Regions from separate parts of the Homo sapiens genome. Here region 1 is linked to region 2. Evidence: promoter capture Hi-C in 16 types of primary human blood cells and fetal thymus (Javierre and others, 2016). All regions are on one chromosome and are shown on one strand. The core of a region is centred on a gene start or on the middle of the fragment in contact, and the rest is flanking DNA. Distances in the headings are between cores, read along the strand shown.

Evidence for each region. The method cuts DNA at HindIII sites, captures the fragments that hold promoters and counts their contacts. A CHiCAGO score of 5 or more calls a contact.
Region 1: the fragment with the promoter of ONECUT1 here is called in contact with the fragment with the promoter of FOXB1 in region 2 in 2 of 17 cell types (total B cells and naive B cells); the score reaches 8.8 in total B cells.

Annotation. Positions count from the first base shown.
Region 1 is chr15:52,788,828-52,792,107 of GRCh38, forward strand. ONECUT1 (one cut homeobox 1) reads right to left here and starts at 1,509. Exons shown (of 2, transcript NM_004498.4): 1 at 1-1,509. The coding sequence starts at 1,057. LOC105370824 (a long non-coding RNA gene) reads left to right here and starts at 1,603. Exons shown (of 2, transcript XR_001751550.2): 1 at 1,603-3,280. RefSeq lists enhancers at 1,505-1,799, 1,796-2,564, 2,565-3,280 and a silencer at 1,547-1,616. The HindIII fragment of the contact is 8,870 bases long and covers 1-1,966 here.
Region 2 is chr15:60,002,835-60,006,131 of GRCh38, forward strand. It overlaps FOXB1 (forkhead box B1), which reads left to right and starts at 1,477. Exons shown (of 2, transcript NM_012182.3): 1 at 1,477-1,809; 2 at 2,073-3,297. The coding sequence starts at 2,130. The coding sequence ends at 3,107. RefSeq lists an enhancer at 1,158-1,673. The HindIII fragment of the contact is 10,028 bases long and covers 1-3,297 here.

The DNA.
Region 1 (3,280 bases), core at 259-2,758, 7.2 Mb before region 2:
ACTTCCACATCCTCCGGAAGGTCTCCCGGCCGGATTTGAGTTTGCTCCAGGGTTTGGGGTTGCGCAGCAGGTCCGAGAGGGTCCCCTGGGAGCGGCAGAGCACCCTCTGCGCGAAGATGGCCTGTGGGATGCTGTAGCGCTTGAGCTCGGTGGTGATACGCTGCGCCACCTCTTTGGTATTGATCTCTTCCATCTGCCCTGAATTACTTCCATTGCTGACCTGCGCGCCGGTCACCGAAGGGTTGGGCTCCCGGGCTGTGCCCAGGAGTTGCCCGTGGCCCTGGGCGTTCAGGTGGGCGTGGGGATGGTGCGGAGGAAGGCCGTTGATGGGCACCATGCCGGCCGAGGTGGGCGTGAGGTGCTGCTCCCCGTGGCGGCCGAGCATGGCCGGGTGGTGGGCTTCGAAGCCGTTGGGGGTGAGCATCTTGTCGGTGGGCATGGCGGCCCCCGGGTGGGCATAGTGGGGGAGCCCTTGCTGGGAGTTGTGGATGCTGCCCAGACCGGAGCTGGAGAGGGGCGAGAGGCTCTGGCCCATGCCGGCCACGTCCTTGTGGTAGGGGGTATAGAGGTTATTCATGGAGGCCAGCCCGCGCTCATCCCGCATGAGCGTGAAGCTACCGCTCACGTTGCCCGCCAGGCGCTGGTGGTGGTGCGGGTGGTGGTGGTGATGGTGGTGGTGGTGATGGTGGGGGAACTTGTCCGAGACTGTGGAGATGGGAGGCAGCGGCTGCAGAGGGGTCAAGGTGGTGTAGGTGGTGGGCATGCTCATACCTGGGGGAGTCTCGCAGGCCATGGTCATGGTGGGATGCAGGGGGCCGGCCAGGCTGTGCTCAGGGGCCCGGTGGTGGTGGTGGTAATCTCCGCCGCCGCTGCCGCCGTCCAGCAGGGACGCCATGCCCATGGAGCGCGGGTGCGCGGGGGGCAGGTGGCTGCCGCGGTGCGCCACGGAGCTGCGCGCGTGGGGGCTGCCGCCCAGCAGGTCGGCAGGGGCGGGCACCGGCTCATGGCTCACCCCGTGCAGCTCGCCGATCGCTTCCATGGTCAGCTGCGCGTTCATCGTGATCCGGGCGAGCAGGCGGCGGACACAACATCGATGTGGCCAGGCAGAGGCGGCGAGGGGCGCACGGAGTCCGGTCTTCACATCGGCTGCTGGCGACTGTTGCCTTCCTTCCTCTCACTGTGGGGCTCTGTCTCTCTCTCTCTCTCTCTCCGTGTGTGTGTGTCCGTGTGTGCGTGTGCGTGTGTGTGTGTGTGTGTGTCTCGCCTTCCCTCTTACCCCCCACCTTCCCCTCTGCGTCCTCGGCTTTTTTTTTTTTAATATTAATTTCCAAAGAGGATCCGCGCCGTTGGGAGAGCGCAGTGCCCCAGCCCGCCCGCCTCGGCCACCTCTCGCCCCTCTCTTTCTTAAAATTCTGAGGTCTCCGGCTCCCCTGCCGCGGCCCGCGCGCCTGCCGCGTCTGCTGCCTGCCCGCCCCGCTGGCCAGCTTGAGCCATGGCTCTGTTACTGTTACAGACTCTGTGGCCGCGGTTCGGTAGCCGCCGCCGCCGCCGCCGCAGCGGCCCGCCCTCACGCCCGCCAGGCGCAGCGCGCATGCGCGAGGCCCGCCCCCGCCCCCTAGGTCGCGGCGCGCCAGGCCCTTGGCGTCCCGGTACAAATGAAGGAGGGGGCCCAGCGCCTTCCCTGCGGCGCTGGATGGCCAGGGAGCTGCGGGCACGTGCGAAAGATTGGCGCAGAGCGCGACCTGGGGCCGCCGCTGCAATCCCAGGAGACTCGCGCCTGGCTCGCTCGCCTCCCTTGCTTGAGTGGGCTCTGTCCTCCCAGCCCGGGGACGCTCGTGTCGGGCTTCTAGCGGCTGGAGTGCTGTGCTTGGAGACATCGCCCCTCTCTCTCCAGTTGCTGCTTCCCGGTGCAGCTTGCCCGGGGAGCTGGGGACTGTGTCATCACCCCTTCGGCTCTAGCCCACTAAGCTTTATTTCCCGGGGGGCTGCTGGGAGTGCGCTTTCCCACCCTTGAATTCACGGCCTATTGGGGGATGGGGGTTGGGGTGGGGTGGGGTGCAGATTGCTTAAAGGGCTGGGTCCGTTTGGCGGCCGTTGACCCGGCACCCTTCGTCCTCCCAGATACATACTTGCCCACCCTTTCTCATCCATGCCCTGGGGAGAGGAGTAATCAGTGCCAAGAATCCCAGTTCGGGCCATACCTCACTGTCCCCCGCCGCCTGGCTCCTTCTCCCGCTCAGCTCATAATTAAGGCTGTGCGTCCGCTTCGCCGATGACTCGGCCTGTGGAGGGGGGCGAGGGAGAGCGGAGGGAGTGCCCTGGAGGGTACCCATGTTAACTTCCGGGTGCTGGTGGGGCCGTGGAGGCTCGGGCCGTCCCTGCGGTTACTCCCAAGGCCCTCCTGCTAAAGCACCCGGAGGCGGTTGCTTTCCAGAAGTACTGACGCAGACAGGGTGGACGCCGGCGCGCGGGTCTCCGCTTGGCCCCTAGGGACGCCCTTTTCCCGGCGTCCCCGAGAGACGCCTCCAGATTTGAAAATCAATTCAGCTTCGGGAGTAATTTCGCCCTTCCCACAGTCACGCTCCAATCTGGAATCGAACCTGGTCTTTGGGCCTGGTGGGGACGTGTGCGGAGGCCCCCAGTTTGAGACGTACACCCGGCCGCCACATGCCGCGGCTTTCTTTCATTTACAAAAGAAAGAAAAAAAATCCGCAACAAAAGGCAGAGCCGTGTCCGCTTAGGTGCTTTCATCCCTCAGAGAAAGGACAGATGTGCCCATTGTCCAGCCCGTGGCAGTTATGGCCGGGTCAGCGCCGAGCCTCAGCCCCAGGCAAGCGGTGGTTACAATGAGAATAGCCTCTCAGAGCCGGGGTATCTGGACTCAGATATGGAATAAAGTGTGTGTAGCCTGTGCTGGGCCAGACTCAGACTGTAGGTTTGCTTGCTGGGGCACCGAACTGCAGCCCACCCGTGGTGTTTCCACTGCAAATGCTCCCAAGCCCTTAGAGAGGCCAAGGCTGTGGTAGTGGTGGTAGTTGGGTTTCCAAGGCAAAAGTTTGGGCTGGCCAACCCTTTGGGAAAAGTTCCCACCGGCCCAGGCATGAGTAGGCCTATCTCTTTGCCCAGGTCCCTGCTACCACCAGGGCAACATCCTAATCCAGGTAGGTCAAGTTCAGTGGATACAGTCAACGTGACTTCCTTGAAGGCGGCCATGTCCTGGGACTGGTTAATCTAGCTGGTTTTATCACCAGAGGCACTCCCATCCTGTCCAAACAATGCA
Region 2 (3,297 bases), core at 227-2,726:
ATTCTGTGTGGGCTGTAAGTATTGAGTTTTTAACAACGCAGTAAAATGAATGTCTTTTAAAAACCTTAAAGGTCGGAGAATGTGCAGAAACCCGTGGGAACTCCTGGTGTGTACTTATAGAGTGCGTGCATGCAGGCGGGGTCGACTCACTATTTATTTCATAGCAATTTGATGATGATGATGATGACGGCAGCGACGACGATGAGGATAATGATAATAATAATAATGATTCATTTAACCCTTCCAAGGCGAATCCGAACCGAAGGGAGCCTGCTGCTCGCACCAGGCGGAGTGACCCAAGGCACATTCCCCGCTCCCCAAGAAGGAAAACTCTATGGTTCTTTCCCCAAGTTGTAGAAGATACTGCTGTCTTAGTGGGATCGCAGGCGGCTTTTGCTACACTCTAAATCCTAAATAAGTTCTCCATACCAAAAAAAGCGGCAGTTGGGGGATGGGGGGTGGGAGGTTGGGGGGGTGGGAGGGCTGGGAAGGGGAGTTCCGGGTGTAAAATGAAAACTTCCAGGATGTGCCTGAGTCCTAAAGTTTCAAACCACCTGGGAAAAGCGAGAGCCCCTGAGGCTTACCTGGTGATAAACTGTGTCAAACAAACTCAGGCCCTCCCCAGGTCCGCACAACATTTGCCCCAACAGCTCCTGAGCCTCCATCCTGTGTCCAACCAAATTCCCGGAGGACTTTTAAAGCAAATACCTGGACTCTTCGCCCAGATACACTATTTTAATTTTTAAAAATTTGGTCAATACAGTTACATTCAAAATGGGTTCTTACATGGGGATGTCCAATCACATTTTGAAAGTATTTGTAAACCCCATCACTTTTTCAAAGCTACACACTAACTATACAAAGCTGAAGCAGCTGCATAGGAAAGTCAAGTCAAATTTCGACCTAACTCTCCGGGGACTGGGGGGCAAGGGTGTGTTTTCATTATTATAACCCATGCAACCAACCCCGGGTAGTGCTAAGCGCAGGAAAAGGGTCGGCTTCAGGGGAAAGCCGTGCCTAAAGTTACCTAACGATACAAACCGGATACAACGCAGAGGAAACAGAATACCCCAGCCAAGCAATTTCCATGTCAAACATCATCCGCGCGGCTGCTCCATCTGTGAACGTGAGTGGTCGCCTGGCTCCCTCTTCCGCGGCGGCCGCTTCCTCATACCTTCACACGGCGCACACCGGCCGGCGCGTCCAGCTGCCTGCCCAGTGGCCGAGGCTCTTCCCCCTCGCCCAGTCTTGAGCTGGAAGTGATTCCTATTGGCCAAGGTGTCCATGTAAATAGGTGTGAAAGAAACCAGAGCTGGCCGGGCTCTCCCTTCTCGCTCAGTCCCCTCCCTCTGCAGCCCCCGCTCCCCCTCCTCTTCCTCCTCCTCCCAAGGCGATTGTCATATGATAGCTAAGAAGTGGCACATTAATGAAGCGCCGCTACAGGGGTCTTTTCTGCTCCTGTCACCGCTTAAAACTATCAGATGGTTCGAGGGAGGACATGGAGGCAGCCACCTAGCTCAGCGGAGACGCGGAGCCCACAGCAGCGCCCTCCGGAGCCCTAACACGTCGCTGCCACCATCCGCGCCGGGACTCCGCAGCCGAGCTCGGCCGCCCGCAGGACGCTCCAGGAGCGTCGCGGACCGGGCGGCACGGGACGCTGCGGGGCTGAGCTCAAGAGCCCAGGTTCGCGCCGAGTCCAACCGGACCCGGACGCTGCGCGCGGAGTGCGCGTCGAGTGCGCGCCGAGAGAGAAGCGGCGCGCAGCGGCGTCCTCCCGGATGCGGACGCGCAACTTGAAGCAACTTTAAGGTGAGCAGCTCTCTGTTCCGTCCCTGCCCCCTATTCTGGCCCCAGTACCGACTTACTTCCCGGCTATCCTCGCGCCGTTCGCCGGCTTCCCCTCCCGCGCCCACTAAGCCCGCAAAGTTGCTGGCGAAAGAGTCCGGGCGCTGGCTGATCGAGCGCCGCAGGCCCCACCCCCGACCCCCGAAGTCTGTTACTCGGTCTGGCTGACCCCGCCGGTGTCTCTGTGCATCCATGCTACCTTTCCCTATTACCCACCCCCTTCCCAGATCCGAGCAGTCCGCCGGCCCGCGCGGACCCAGAGCAAGAAGAGGGCGAGGAAGAAGATGCCTCGGCCCGGCCGCAACACGTACAGCGACCAGAAGCCGCCCTACTCGTACATCTCGCTGACCGCTATGGCCATCCAGAGCTCTCCCGAGAAGATGCTGCCGCTGAGCGAGATCTACAAGTTCATCATGGACCGCTTCCCCTACTACAGGGAGAACACGCAGCGCTGGCAGAACAGTCTGCGCCACAACCTCTCCTTCAACGACTGCTTCATCAAGATCCCGCGGCGGCCGGACCAGCCAGGCAAGGGCAGCTTCTGGGCGCTGCACCCAAGCTGCGGGGACATGTTCGAGAACGGCAGCTTCCTGCGGCGCCGCAAGCGCTTCAAGGTGCTTAAGTCCGACCACCTGGCGCCCAGCAAGCCAGCCGACGCGGCGCAGTACCTGCAGCAGCAGGCCAAGCTGCGGCTCAGCGCGCTGGCGGCCTCGGGCACGCACCTGCCACAGATGCCCGCCGCCGCCTACAACTTGGGCGGCGTGGCGCAGCCCTCGGGCTTCAAGCACCCCTTCGCCATCGAGAACATCATCGCGCGGGAATACAAGATGCCTGGGGGGCTGGCCTTCTCCGCCATGCAGCCGGTGCCCGCTGCCTACCCGCTCCCCAACCAGTTGACTACCATGGGCAGCTCGCTGGGCACCGGCTGGCCACACGTGTATGGCTCCGCCGGCATGATCGACTCGGCCACCCCCATCTCCATGGCGAGTGGCGACTACAGCGCCTACGGCGTGCCGTTGAAGCCGCTGTGCCACGCGGCGGGCCAAACGCTGCCCGCCATCCCCGTGCCCATTAAGCCCACGCCGGCCGCCGTGCCCGCGCTGCCTGCGCTGCCAGCGCCCATCCCCACCTTGCTCTCGAACTCGCCGCCCTCGCTCAGCCCCACGTCCTCGCAAACAGCCACCAGCCAAAGCAGCCCCGCCACCCCCAGCGAAACGCTCACCAGCCCGGCCTCCGCCTTGCACTCGGTGGCGGTGCACTGACCCGCAGGAGCCCACGCCCCCTCTCGTTCTCCTCCCCACCACCTCACTCGCCTTCCCTGGCTCCCAGTCCTGCCGGCCCCCACCTGGGACCGCCACCCTAACTTGTTCATTTCACCTTCGGCCAACCCGCCTTGCCCCAAGAGAACTTTGTTTTGGACCCAGGAGACCAAACACAAACTTGCAGATGGGC